Linked DNA regions of Homo sapiens: region 1 is linked to region 2. The links are contacts of gene promoters, found by promoter capture Hi-C in human tissues and cell types (Jung and others, 2019). All regions are on one chromosome and are shown on one strand. The core of a region is centred on a gene start or on the middle of the fragment in contact, and the rest is flanking DNA. Distances in the headings are between cores, read along the strand shown. Region 1 holds the start of SGCA (sarcoglycan alpha). Region 2 holds the start of EPN3 (epsin 3).

Region 1 (7,037 bases), core at 19-2,518, 370 kb after region 2:
GGACCGAGAGAAGCGCTTCCTTTGCTGCCTCCCAGGAAGGGATTGGGGTGGGGATGGGGGAGCAAGCCCTGCTGGGCTAGACATTTTAATCGTCTGGGTTTCGGGATTCGAGGGAGAACCTCTCCCACAACCTTTCCATTCCTTGTTTTAGGCCCCTATTAATGGTGCAGTGGGCAGGGACTGATGTTTGACTGGGAAGTGTGTGTGTGAGGGTGTGTGTGTGTGTGAGGGGATGTGGGGGGGTGTGTGTGTGAAGGTATGTGTGAGGGTCTGTGAGGATGTGTGTGAGGGTGTGTGTGCAAGTGAGTGTGTGTGAGAGGGTGTGTGTGAGGGTGTGTGTGTGTGAAGGTGTGTGTGGGGGGTGTGTGTTTGCGGGGGGTGTGTGGGGGTATGTGGGGGTATGTGGGGGTGTGTGTGGGGGGTGTGTGTGACGGTGTGTGGGGTGTGTGTGTGACGGTGTGTGTGAGGGTGTGTGTGTGAGGGTGTGTGAGGGTGTGTGAGGGTGTGTGTGTGAGGGTGTGTGAGGGTGTGTGAGGGTGTGTGTGAGGGTGTGTGTGTGAGGGTGCCGTGAGGGTGTGTGTGAGGGTGTGTGTGGGTGTGTGTGTGTGTGAGGGTGTGTATGTGTGAAAGGCACTGGGAAAAGAATCCCATGCTAAATGCCCAAGAGCCCAGAGGAGAGGAAGACGGGGCCAGGAGCCTACAGAGGAGGAAGGGTAGCCATTCTGGGCCTGGAGACCCCCACCTTCCTCCCCTAAAATACAGGGAAGAAGAAGGCCTGCCCTAGAGGCCAGTAGGAGCTGAGCAAAAGGAATCCTAAGTCCAAGAGAGGAGCAGAGGACCTGGCCGCCAGCTCCACCCTCCCTCCCAGGGCCAAATTTAGCCTGGGCTTAGAAGCTGCGGCCCAGCCAGCTCATTAAAGGGCCCACGACCCTTTGGGCCTGTGCTGTCAGACCCACCCGGGCCCTAGGACACCTCCAGCCCTCAGAGCTCCCAGCCCCTTCATCCCAGAGCCCAGCTCCCAGCCCCATTCCCTGGATCCCCAGCTGGCCATGGCATTAACACCCCAAAGCCCTTCTGGCGCCTGCCTCACCCAACCCAGATCCCTCTTCTGTGGGCCCTCCACACCTCCGTCTTACCACCCCTAAATCCTGCCCCCTCATCCTGGGCCTCCCCGCTGAACAAGGCCCCAACTTGCCCACGAGGAGAGGAGTCCAGAAGAGTGTCTCAGCCATGGCTGCCCGGCCTGGCCCGCCCGGTGAGTGACAGAGACAGGGGGCAGGGAGGAGAGGAGGGAAGGAGGGAGGTGGCTCGGGGCAGCTGGGTCCCAGCGTCAGCCTCCCCTCCCCGCCTGGAGCATGCACCAAATCTGGGATAGACACCCTCCTCGCACTCATTGTCCCTCCAACCGTCCCCTCCAGTGGCCACAGTGTTTTTTAAACCACCAACCAGGCCACCTCCATCCTCCCTTAAAACTCTAATGGTTCTCATGGCCCCTGAGTTCCCAGCTCATCCCCAGTTGGTGGCTTTCTGGCCTGTCCTGAACCTGGTCAGCTGGTCTAGAATCCCATCCTCTGCCCCTACCCTTCCAACCCCAGGCCCCTGCTCAGCCTCACTCCGCTCCTGCCTAGCTTGGCAGACTCTCTCAAGTCTCCAAGCCGTCGTCCAGGCTATTGCCTCTGCCTGCAGTTCCCTTCCCACCTTCATTCAAGCAGCAACCTTCCAGTCACCTTTCCAGACTCTGCACAGATGTCCTCTCCTCTCTGAAGCCTTTCTGACCTCCCTTCTTCTGCTAGGCCAAGCTGGGTGTCCCCTTAGCCCCTGCGTGCTTTCCTGGGCACAACACAATCACACAGACTGCTCCAAGCTCCTCGAAGACTAGGATCTTGTCACGTTTGTATCCTTGGGCCTGGCACAGGGCCTGGTAACTAGTAGGTGTAGCTGGCTGGCGGCAGCTTCCTTAACAGCAAACGTAGGTGCCATCCACCCAGCCTTTATCCCCAGTCCAAGCACTTCAGCGTGGAGGTCTAGCAAGCCCTGGACAGGACCAGCCAGCTAGAGACAGGTGAGCGGAGGAGGCACCCTCTCTGGCCCATGGAGTCAGGGTTCATTCGGCGCATAGACTTGGAGGCCTGGAGGTGGGCCACCTTGGCCACTTGCTGGGGATGAGGCCTTGAGTGCACCATTTGCCCTCTAGCCCATTTCCACAACTATAAACTGGCAAGAATAGTGCTTGCCTCTTGGCATCATTGTGAGGACTCCACAAAGTAATGAATGCAGCGCATATTTATGAAACACCTGCTATGTATCAGACATTGAAATTGCAAAGATAAGCAAACCTCTGCCCACATGGAGGTCACCTGCCAGTGGGTAATACCAGCTAGCGCTGCCAGCTACTGTGCTGAGAATCTTACATATATCTACCTATATTACCTCATTCCATCTCCTCAGCAGTTCCATGAGGCAGGTATTATTACTGTGCCCATTTAACAGATGATAAAACTGAGGCACAGGGGTGTATACCTTCCCCAAGGCCACATTGCTGATGAGTAGAATGCATGTGGACGGCTTAGCCCAGTGCCTGGCTCAGTCGATGACTGTGCTGCTGATGTACTTGCCCGGCCCTGCTTCCCCTTCCTTCTTGCCTCTGCCAAAGGATCTCAGTCCAGGGGCGATGGGGCGCGGTGTCCTCTCCCCAGGTCTCTCACTTAGGGCAGGCACAGGGGCACTCTCCCCAGGTGCCCTGAGAAGGGGGCGGGGACCTATGGCTGCCAGGGTTCCCAAATCCTTGGTGCCTGTGTGACCTCTCCTCCAGGGCCTCAAAAGGACAACAAAATACCCCAGGCAAGGATCACTTGGGTCCAGCCTAAGGGCACAGGTGTTGGCCTGCAGATGGGGTGACTGGTAGGCAGGTTACGCAGTCCTTGTCCCTTCCTCTCTCTCTCTCCACCTGACTGACCCGCTCATCCCTGGAGAGCCACCAAATTCCAGAGTCAGCGTCCCCTCAGGCAAGGCAGTATTTGTCCCAGCATCACCTGGCCATCTCTCTGTCTTCTCAGAGACAGAGGGAGGGAGGAAGAAAGGTTCTGGAGGCAGAGGAAGAGCCCAAGGGTTCTGGGGGAGCAGGCAGAAGTGCCAACCCCCTGGGCACCTGCCCAGCCTCACCCCTGAGCTTCTCCATGTGACTCCCCGCCCCCTGCCGTCCCCCTGGCTATTTTTGGAGCCACCCACTCAGCTGTCTTAAGGTAGCAGTGCCTGGCCCCAGTGTCACCAGGCCCACAGAGGCCAGCCTTCCTTAATGAAAAGCTGCAGCTACTTCCCCATCAGATCCTCCCTGCCCAATTCAAGGGAGCCAGGGACTGTCCCACAAGCCAGAAAGTCCCCAGAAACCCTTCTCAGGCCCCTCAGCCATCAGAGGACCTTCCCACTCAGAGCTGTCTGGATTGCAACCTGCTGCTTGTAACACACAGCACCTTCTGTCTATTGGGCCTAGGGGTGGGAAGGGAGGTCACAGGGTCTTTAAACTTCTTAGTTTGAAAAATTTGCAGCATACTATAATAAGCCCCCGTGTATCTGTCACCTGGCTTCAACAATTATCAACTCATGGCCAGTCTAGTTTCATCTGTACCCCTCCTGATTAATTTCATCCATCAATATTTCAGTGTGTATCTTTAAATGATAATGACTCTTTTTAACATAATCACATAACACGTTCAGCTATTAACATCATCAATAAAATTCCTTAATATCAAACTTCTAGTGTTCAAATTACCAATTTCTCATAAACATACATATTTTTACAGTGTATTTGTTTGACTCAAGATACAAAGAAGATACACACATTGCAACTGATTGATGATTTATAGGGCTTTTTTTTTTTTTTTTTTTGAGACAGAGTCTCGCTCTGTCACCCGGGTTGGAGTGCAGTGCCATGATCTCGGCTCACTGCCACCTCCACCTCCCAGATTCAAGCAATTCTCCTGCCTCAGCCTACAGGCACGTGCCACCATGCCCAGGGGTTTCACCATGTTGGCCAGGCTGGTCTCAAACTCCTGACCTCAAGTGATCCACCCACCTTGGCCTCACAAAGTGCTGAGATTACGGGCGTGAGCCACTGTGCCTGGCCAAGGCTCTTTTAAATTTCTTCAAATCTATAGGTTCCCATACATCCTTTCTCTCTCTTTTTTCCTTCCTCCCTTCCTTCCTTCCTTCCTTCATACTTTCCTTCCTTTCCTCCCTCCTTCCTTCCTTCCCTCCCTCCCTCCTTCTTCTTCCTTCTCTCCCTCCCTCCCTCCTTCTTCTTCCTTCTCTCCCTCCCTCCCTCCTTTCTTCCTTCCTTCCCTCCCTCCCTCCCTCCTTTCTTCCTTCCTTCCCTCCCTCCCTCTCCTTCCTTCCTTCCTTCCTTCCTTCCCTCCCTCCCTTCTCTTTCTCGTTCCTTGAAGGAGCCAGAAAATTTCTTCTGTAGTTTTTTGCCCTCTGGATTTTGCTGATTGCATCTCTATGGTGATCTTTAACATGTTCCTCCCACCTCCATACTTCCTGTACGTTGTATTTCCTGTACATTGTTACTGTAATTTGTAGTTGGATCTAGAGGCCTTATAAGGTTTATGTTCAATTTCCTTCGTTGAGACCACTTCATAGGTGGTGACAGTGTTCTTCCATTTGAAGGCACATCATGCGTTTCTGTGGTCTTAGTAGTGTCTTGCCTCCGCCATTAGCGTTTTATTTTTTGTGTGTGTGCAGAATAGTGATATTCAGATTTGATCACTCTGATCACCCCTTCCTTTATTAGCTGGAATAATTATAGACAGAAACTGCCCCTTGCGATTTGGTTACTGAGTGGGAAAGTTCGTAAAAGGAAGACGGGAGAAACGCTGGACTCTTCCTGTATTAAACAGTTTCTGAATAAAGAGCTGTTTCCCTAGCATCCTCCAAACTCTGGCCAGTCCGAGCTTCTTTGGTAGTAGTAGAATGATGATACATGGTTTACACCTATCTGACTGCTTCAGTCCATTGCAACTAGGGTCCCTTCTGGTGCTCACATTGCCTATCTTTAGCTCTCCGTTTTGTCATCCCCAGTTGGGGCGTCGGTCAGGAGAGCTGGAGGGGTCGGGGCTCGTACCCCACCTCGCACAGCTGGTGCCCTTGCCGTGCCCTAGGCTCCGCCGGTACTTCCCCGGCCTCCGCCTCACTCCTGCGGCCCAGCCCTGTCCTGAGCTAGTCGCTTCTCTGTCCTGGCCTTTTTGACATCCGCATCCGTCTCTCCAGCTTTCTGCCCCGTCTCTGCCCACCAGTGCCTAAATGTAAGCCCTCTGGTCCTTTGTCCCTGTATCTCCCCATCCCAGTGAATGTTTGCTGAATGAACGAATGACTGCTGTCCAGTGTGTCTCATTCAGCTTCAGTTTCTGTGCACCTGTCTCTAAGTCTCTTGAGGTCTGAGGCCGTGTTTTCTTTATCTGCATCTATACGTTGCCGTGAGGGACAAAGGAAAGGGCTTCTCGTCATTGTGATCTGATTCTCGCATCTGCCTCCCAGACTCCACCCACATCTTTCTCCCCTGTCCCGTACGCCGCCTCCAGCGCAACAACAAAGACTGCGACCTGGCCAGTCCGCCACGAGAGGGCGCGTTCGCTGGCGCCAGCCCGGTCTTGCGCCTGCGCGATGTTGGGACGGAGCGGGAGTCGGGGGCGGGATGCCTGCGGAGCGCGCCGCCCCGGGCTGGGGATGCGCGTCAGCAGTGCGTGCTGGGGGACGCAGTTACAGGGGGCGACGCAGGAGGGAACCCAAGGCCACGAGCTCCATCTCGTCCTCCCCTTCCCGACCCAGAAAACGCTCTAATCTACAGGGGGAGGAGAAGCCGCACGGAGGCAGGGGGCTGGACATAATGATCTCTTCCCCATCCCACCTCCACCCATCCCACCATCTGTATCAAGCCTCCGACTTCCAAGGACATTTCCATATCCCCCCAGACATTTTGGGATACCAGCCTGGAGACCTAAATGTACCCAGAATCCCCCGCCTTTTTATCGGTGGATTTCAGCCCTCAAAGCGTTCCGTGAGCCTCTGACCGCCCAAATCCATCACACATGAGTTGGAATGCCAGGGACCATTCCCGGCCAAACGTTAGATTACAGGAGTAAGAGAGAAGAGGAGGGACTGTCCGAGGTGCCTCGGCACTATGGCTGCACAGCTGGATCTCTGGACACGGAGCCCTGGACCGTTTCCACCCAGACACTCCCATTCCATCAAGTGGGGGTAAGAAGGATCAATGAGATAATGGAAGCGAAAGCGCTTTGCAAACTGTAAAGCTCTGGAGAAAGTAAGGGTGTTTTATTTATTTATAACTGACAGTGCAAGGTAATAGCTGCCCAGGGCCAGCCCACAGGCACAGCCCAAGAGCTGGAAAAGGTCAGATTTAGAAGCCACCATTCACTGATAGAAGGATTAGGAAAATAAGACCAGGCACGGGGGCTCACACCTGTAATCCCAGCACTTTGGGAGGCCGAGGTGGGTAGATCACGAGATCAGGAGTTCCAGACCAGCCTGGCCAACATGGTGAAACCCCATCTCTACTAAAAATAATTAGCTGGGCGTCGTGGTGGGCACCTGTAATCCCAGCTAATCAGGAGGCTGAGGCAGGAGAATCTCTTGAACCCGGGAGGCAGAGGTTGCAGTGAGTTGAGATCACGCCATTGCACTCCAGCCTGGGTGACAGAGCGAGACTCCGTCTCAAAAAAAAAAATTTAAAAAAGAAGGGTTAGGAAAATAAGAGGCAAAAGTCTCTGACATCTGTAGACAGCATGATTATTTATATGGAAAATCAAGAGATTCTACGGGCATATTATTAGAGTGATTAAGTGAAGTCATGCTGGACAAATGTCAACATCCAAATACAAAAAACCATATAAAATTCAGCAGTGTTTCTACGCACTAGCAATAGTTTATTAGAAATTGTAGTATCTTTCAAAAAGAAATCATTCACAATAAAATTAAAATTGTACAAAACCCAGAAAAAAATTACAAAACACATTGCAAGATAT
Region 2 (7,036 bases), core at 1,002-3,501:
TGTGTGCATGCACACACACACTGTCTGGGCCTGCAGAGCCTCCACTTCACCCGTGAACTGTCCCCCACCCACCAAACACCTTTCGGCTCCACCCTCCATCCCAGCCCGTGCCCCAACTGGTCCCCAGGCTGCCAGAAGCAGGAATCTGAAGGAGACTGTCCTCTCGCACCCGATTCCACGCTCCTTCCACCCCAGCCCCGCCAGTGCTGGGCTCAGTTCAAAGCAGCCCCACGCTTTGAAAACATGCCTTGGCAGGTTTTGTTGGGGGCCCAGAGAATAAGATACCGTGGGAGTGGGCGAGGTGGAGAGTGCCTGGCCCACAGCGCAGCCTACCTTTTGTCTGCTATCTCTTTCCTTCCAGCGGGTCGTGGGCCTTCTGTGGGAATGCCACGGCCACAACTTGTTTAACTCCTGCCCTCCCCCTTGCTAGTGACTCAGACCTGCCTTCACCTCCCCAACCCGTGGCTGGGGGTGGCAGAGTCAAGATGGGAAATAATGTGCACCAAAGCCCGCCCAGCACACGCCCCTACCGGCTGGCCGCTGGAACTAGCAGAACCAGTCGGGCACTGTGACTGCACCAGAGCCCTACCTGGACCTGGCTGCCCTGGCCCTCCGGCCTGGCCTGTGTGGGGGCACCAGCCTCTGGGAGGGGACTCTCGGTGTGGGCCCAGCGGCCCTGCCTGGACCTTTCTCACAGAAGGTGGGCATTCTCTGCACACCCCTGCAGGGGCTGGGGGGAAGGGCGGGGCCAGAAACATGGGGAGGCACCTTGATTTTCCTTCTCTGGAGTTTGAGGGGACAAGGTGAGGCTGCCCAAGCACAGAGAAGGGAGGAGGAAAGGAAGAAGCCTGCCCAAGCGCAGAGAAGGGAGGAGGAAAGGAAGAAGCCTGCCCAAGCGCAGAGAAGGGAGGAGGAAAGGAAGGAACGCGGGAACGCGGGAGGGAGCAGCTGGGAGCGCTGCCAGCAGTGTTACAAGCAAAGGGTTTTATCGAACACGATATGCCCAGAAATAAAAGGGAGTGTAACAGAAACCCAGCGGCCGATAAGGCGGTGGCGGTAGCAGCAGCAGCCCTGGGCAGCTGGGTATGGAATTACTGCAGTGACCTTGAGCCAGACCCTGTCAGGTGGAGGGAAGGGCACAGAGAGGGCAGGGCCTGAGAATTCAGAGATGACGAGAGGGCAGAGGAGGGAGGAAGCTGAGGGGATGGGAGCAGGGCCAGCAGGCGGTGGGATGGGCCACGGGGCACGGAGTATCAGCTCTCTCCTGCATACAGGGTCCCAAGGAGAACTGCGCAGTAGGGAGGGGCTGCTCTTCTCAGGGCCTGCAGGATGGGGGGATCTGGAGAGTTTCCCAAAAGTCAGGACCGAAAAATGCAGATCGCTCATCCCCAGCAAGGGTTTCGGAGAGATGGAGAGAACCCAGATCTGTCCAGTCACACGTGCATGAGTTTGCGTAAAGTCTGTGCACCCACCAGCCCAGCCCACACCCTCTTCCCGTCCTCTGCTAAGGTGGGCTCCAGCCCCTGCCTCCAAGTCAGATCCAGCCTGAGCAGTGGGGAATGACAGTGCCCTTCTTGATGCTGTAAGGGACAGGGGGTGAGCTTGAACTCTAAGCTTCTGGCCACTGTAATAGCTGCATCCCGGGAGCACAGAAGATGGGGGAGGGGGGACTGCCCTGAGGCTAGAGGTGTGCATGAGGGGCTGAAGAAGAGGAAACAGCAGAGATGTGCAGAAGGAGTCTGTGGGGAATGCCACCAAAGATGCTAAGATGCCACCAAAGATGCTAAGTCCCAGGATGGTTGGGGAGGGGGCCCTGAGTCCCTTTTTGGGGGCGGCAGGGAGGGAGGGGTGGCAGGAAAGAAGCCTTTAGGTCCTCTACAGCTCAGCCTTCTCCCTCGCACCTGGAAAAGAGACTAAGCCCCAGAACCACTGTTTGCTCCCCACCAACCCCCGCCTTCCATGCCGCCACTGCCAGGGAGGGGGCCAGGGAGGAAGCTTACCTCCAGTGCGGGCTCCCTCGGCCCCAGCCCCAGCCCGAGTAGCCTCTGCGGTGACCCTCCGACCTGTGCAGCAGCGGGACGGCACAGCCTCGGGAGCGTCTCCAGAGCCATCCACCATGGACCCTCGTCCCAGAGACCCACCTGCTCCCAGGAGGTGCAGACCCCTCAGAGGGGCAGCGGCAGGGTCCCTGGAATGGGTAGCAGCTCTTCCCGCGTGCGTTTGCCTCCTAGCCAGCGCCAGGCAGCACTCCGAGGAAAGTTGCTCAGCTGGCCCGGCAGGTCTGCCTCAGCAGTAACAGGACACAGGAGGAAGTGCAGGGCAGGTTAACCCCTTCCTGCTGGCCAGGCAAGTGGTGCATTGAGAGGTGGGGGGCCTGCCTGTTGGCCGCCCCCAGGAAGTGCACATCTGGAGCCAGTGCTGGCGACCTGATCCCCTCTGCTTTGAGTTAACCCTTCCCCTGCCTCTTCAACAGGAAAGGAGGGGGGCTCCAACACCCCCACCACACCCCTCCCCTTCCTCCTCTGGGCCGGGAGGACATTAAAGGAGAGGGCAGGGACATTCCCTGGGGCTGGCTCTTTGGTGGAGCCCCCGTCTTCTCGTCTTCTTGGGGAGGAGAGCATCAGGACTCCAGCACAGCCCCCTCCCTGCCTTTCCCACACGGAGTCAGATCCTTCTGTCCATCCTCCCCCTCCTGCATCTCAGCTGGAGGATGCCTGAGGCCCACTTAAGGATGCCCACCCACCCAAAAACCAAAGTTGTTCTTCAAACTCTGGGAGCCTGGAGTGCTCTTCACACAGGGAGCCCAGCCCCAAATGGTTATGACTGACAGAAGACAATGAGGGGCCTGAGTTTGAGCTGACAATACCTTTTTTTCTGAGAGCCATTTCTAGCCTGTTTCATGTTCCCCTGAGCAAGGGAGGTAGCATGAAGATCAGCAGCTGTTTTTAAGGCAGAAAGATGGCTCAAGGCCAGATAGTTTGAGATGAGGAGGGGGATAAGGCAGACTAGACCCCGAAATAACAAGGTGATGTGGCCTCTAGAGCTGAAGAGGTGTGGTGAGCATGATCTTCAGGGACTGAATTGGGGCCCTGGGACCCAGCTGAAGAGGGGAGATGGCAGGGAGCCAGGTCCCATGGGTCTAGTTCTACTCCTCATCTCACACTTTGTCATACTTGGTGATGACACTTCGGGAAGACCTGGCTCCAGGAAGCACGACCCTGAAAGTGTGGGCCAAGGAAGCCAGAGGCAGGGACTACCAGAGGTGACACACTGTCCTGTCACCTGACTCCTTGTCTTGCTACCAATCTGCTCCTCTGCTTGGCATCCCACACATCACTTCCCCAGCTATGTCTGTCTGTCCTCCTGCAGGAGGGCTCTGGCAGCTGGCAGGAGGGGATCTGAGGGCAGGTGGAACATGGGAGGACCTGGATCAGGAGCTGACCTAGCCAAGATCCATCATGCAAGACACAGAGGCACACGGAAGTAGTAGAAACTTGAAGGTTCTTTATTGATTTATTTATTAACCCGTTTTCCAGAAGGTTGCTTGGGCCCGAGAGTCACCTGCAGAGGCGCAAAGCCTCCTCGACATTCTTTATGGGGCTGAGCTCATCAGCCAGGACCATCAGGTCAGTCACCAGGGTGTCCAGCAGCCCACGGACCTGGAAGAACGGGACAACATCACAGGCAGAGTTTACTCTGTGGGAAGCACCTATATATGAACTATGCTGTGAGAGAATAGCTGGAGAGGGGAAAGAAACCAGTTGTTTGTGAAAGAATTTCACAAGTTCAAAGTTCTTGTGAAATAATTTTTGGTTTTGCAGATTTTTTTTTTTTTTGACAGGATCTCACTCTGTCACCCAGGCTGGAGTCCAGTGGTGTGATCATGGCTCACTGCAGCCTTGACTTCCCTGGCTCAGGTGATTCTCCCATCTCAGCCTCCCAAGTAGCTGGGACTACAGGCGTGCACCACCAGACCTGGCTACTTTTTTCTATTTTTTGTAGAGATGGGGTTTCACCACATTGCCCAGGCTAGTCTCGAACTCCTGGGCTCAAGCAATCCACCTGCTTTTGCAGTTTTACTTTTCAAACCAGTCTGGGGAGGTGGCCCTGCGCTGGTACCTTTGACATATGGAGATACTAGAGCTAAGTTGTTCAAGGGGCAACTCCAGGGAGCCCATGGAGCGGTGCCCATTTAGCCGTTTGGGGTGGGCCTGGGCTCAGCCCCAGTTCTACTCTGGCCTCCTGGAGGCCAATTTTCCTTCCTGTATCCACAGACTGAAAGGTCTCTGGGACTGACCCCTCCAATGGGGTTGGATCATACAAGCCCAGACAAGTTGATTCTTTTTTTTTTCTGCAGAGATGGGGTCTCCCTGTGTTGTCTAGGCTGATGTCGAACTCCTGGGCTCAAGCAATCCACCTGCCTCAGCCTTCCAACGTGCTAGGATTACAGGTGTGAGCCACTGGCCAGCAAGTTGATTCTTTTTTTTTGGAGGTAAGAGTCTCACTCTTGTCACCCAAGCTGGAGTGAAATGGCGTGATCTCGGCTCACTGCAACCTCCACTTCCCGGGTTCAAGCGATTATTGTGCCTCAGCCACCCAAGTAGCTGGGACTACAGGTGAGTGTCACCATGCCTGGCTAATTTTTTGAATTTTTAGTAGAAACGGGATCTTACCATGTTGCCCAGGCTGGTCTTGAACTCCTGAGCTCAGGCAATCTGCCCACCTTGGCCTCCCAAAGTGCTGGGATTACAGGCACGAGCCACCGCACCTGGTCTGCAAGTTGATTCTTAATATCAAAGAGCCATGGAAGGGTTGACGTTGACCCCCATGGGTCCTCAGAGCCCTTTAATTACTTTCTAGACCCCATCAACCATCTGATATCTTAGTGATGTCACCAGTGGCAAATGGAACTTTTGATCAAATGAGATCCAGAGTGTGACCACAATACATGATGTAATCCCAGCTCCCCAGCTATCCACATTAGAGGAAGGCAAGACGTCGCCAATAGACATACTGACATATTGAAAATGGCTTTGTGGACCTCCCCTCCAAAACAAACAACAACACTAACAAACAAAACGGAAAACCTGGGTGAATTTCTAAGGACCTGCTACTTAAGAACGGATTAGGATGAAGTCTCTCTAGTCCTTCAAACTCTTACAGTTGATGGGAATGCACCCTGCATGGTGTTCTCCCAAGGAACGCATCTGCCAGGATGCACCTAACGGGGAGTAAGAAAGAGAAGGGCTTCCTTCCTCTCTGTTCCCCTAGAGTCTGTTCTCCAAAGGGCGGCCAGAGCCACCTTCTAAAGCCTATCAGACCCTATTGCGTTTCTATTCAAAACCTTGCGTGACTTCTCATTTCACTCCGAAAAATCCCAAGTCTTCACAATAGCCTGCAAACCATCCCCCACCCCTATGACCTGCTCCCCACTACTGCCCTCTCCCTTCTGGCCCCTCCCTCCTATGGCAGTTGCTCCCCATGCCTGGAGCACTCTTTACTGGACGTCTACTTGGCCACCCTTCCCCTCCCTTCAAATCTTTGTGGGTTGTCACCTCCTCACTGAGGCCTCTGTGCCTCCATTCCCTGCCTGGTCTATCTTCTCTCCCGTCGTACTCATCACCTAACATGCTAGGCGCATTCCTTATTCATGAGGCCTGTCTCACACACGAGGATGCCCTTCCTGAAGCAGCTCTGCTTCCACCATGATGGAGTGGGCACTTATTGTCTGCAGACTGAACGGAATGAATAAGGCAGGTGGGAGGCAGGGGAATGGCTGCTGGGCGCTTCCCTTCACCTCACTGTGCAGGCTCTGGGTGTATTTCCCCATGACCAGGGGGTCTATGGGTTCTTGAGAAGAGAGGATGATGTCAGGGGTAGGGTCTTCCAAAGAAAACCTGTCCTGACTTGCAGATTTTATGACTTTCTTGTCATCCTTTGCCTTGTGCTTCTTGCTGTTGGGACGGTCCTGCTGGGGGAGGGAGACACACATAGCCTTCAGGAGCTCCAGAGGTAGGCCAAGGATGTCCTCAACAGTAGCTCACTGGGAGAGCCTGGGCACATGCCCACCTCCACAGCCCCCACCTCCGCAGCCCCTCCAATCCCCTCCCCAGCCCCACCTGGCCCAGACCACGCCCCAGCATGCCTCTTTCCCGAGCAGCTTGGCTCCTTTCTTGTCTTCTTTGTCTTTGATCCCCAGTTGCTTCTTTTCCTGGGCTGCTCCTTTCCGCTCCTCCTTCCCAGCTTTCCCCACAGGTACCTTCACTTCCATGATAGGAGGTGATTTTTGATCTAAGGGAGGTGGGTGGAAGAAAATATGGCAGGCCCCCAACAGCCTAGTGGATGCTGCAGGTACGTGAGGAGGCTTGAGGGGAGGTGGAAAAGCAAAGGGCAATAGCCTTGAGCCCTGGTAGGCGCGTGGCTTCATGAAACAGGACTGTGGTGCCTATGTTCTGGTCCCAGCTCTGCCATGCCATGAATGGCCATGGATAAGTCATTTAACTTTGCTGGGATTACTAAACCAAGGTGGTCACTAAGGTAGCTTCTGGGTACCACATCCTGGCAGCGGACAGAAAGGGGTAAGGGGCCTACTCCATGGGCTCAACCTAGCAGAGCTTCCACCAAAGGAGTATGACTGGCCCAGGCACTGCTGCTTGTCCATTCAGAGAGATGAGGAGGGCTATGCAGAGGTGTGGTTGGTTGCACAAGATCTGACCTTGCTCTTCAGGCACATTCAAATAGATGGTCTCCTTCTCAGGCAGGCCCAGCACAGACCTCAGCCACATGGAATGGCCCACCAGGCTGTCAATCACATCTCGCCACAGCTGCAAACTAGAGGGCAAGACACAGTGGAGAAATGCCATCACTCCTCATTTGTCCTTGAACCTGCAGAGGCTTGGGTCCCTCCCTTCAAAGACCCTGGTGCCACGAGCTGCTGTGGAAATGCCACACCCCTGAACAGCCAGCATCCTCACTGTTCCCCGCCAGGGCAAGTGCTTGGAGGGGGTTCTGGCTTGCCTTGGGTGGCAACCAAGAA

Evidence for each region. Contacts are between HindIII fragments. The study calls those that stand out against the background at their distance.
Region 1: the fragment with the promoter of SGCA here is called in contact with the fragment with the promoter of EPN3 in region 2 in 1 of the 25 tissues and cell types used here (mesendoderm cells).

What each region holds. Positions count from the first base shown.
Region 1 is chr17:50,160,236-50,167,272 of GRCh38, reverse strand. SGCA (sarcoglycan alpha) reads right to left here and starts at 1,268. Exons shown (of 10, transcript NM_000023.4): 1 at 1,196-1,268. The coding sequence starts at 1,232. LOC105371818 (a long non-coding RNA gene) reads left to right here and starts at 916. Exons shown (of 4, transcript XR_934833.3): 1 at 916-1,255; 2 at 1,794-2,062; 3 at 6,125-6,252. It overlaps LOC124904025 (a long non-coding RNA gene), which reads right to left. Exons shown (of 3, transcript XR_007065841.1): 3 at 6,916-7,037. RefSeq lists enhancers at 3,174-3,674, 5,491-5,785 and silencers at 5,541-5,780, 5,811-5,890. The HindIII fragment of the contact is 20,868 bases long and covers 1-7,037 here.
Region 2 is chr17:50,527,950-50,534,985 of GRCh38, reverse strand. It overlaps EPN3 (epsin 3), which reads right to left and starts at 2,251. Exons shown (of 10, transcript NM_017957.3): 1 at 2,001-2,251. MYCBPAP (MYCBP associated protein) reads right to left here. Exons shown (of 19, transcript NM_032133.6): 16 at 6,716-6,831; 17 at 6,146-6,291; 18 at 5,798-5,968; 19 at 3,485-3,659. The coding sequence ends at 3,558. RefSeq lists enhancers at 32-708, 709-1,385. The HindIII fragment of the contact is 9,890 bases long and covers 1,806-7,036 here.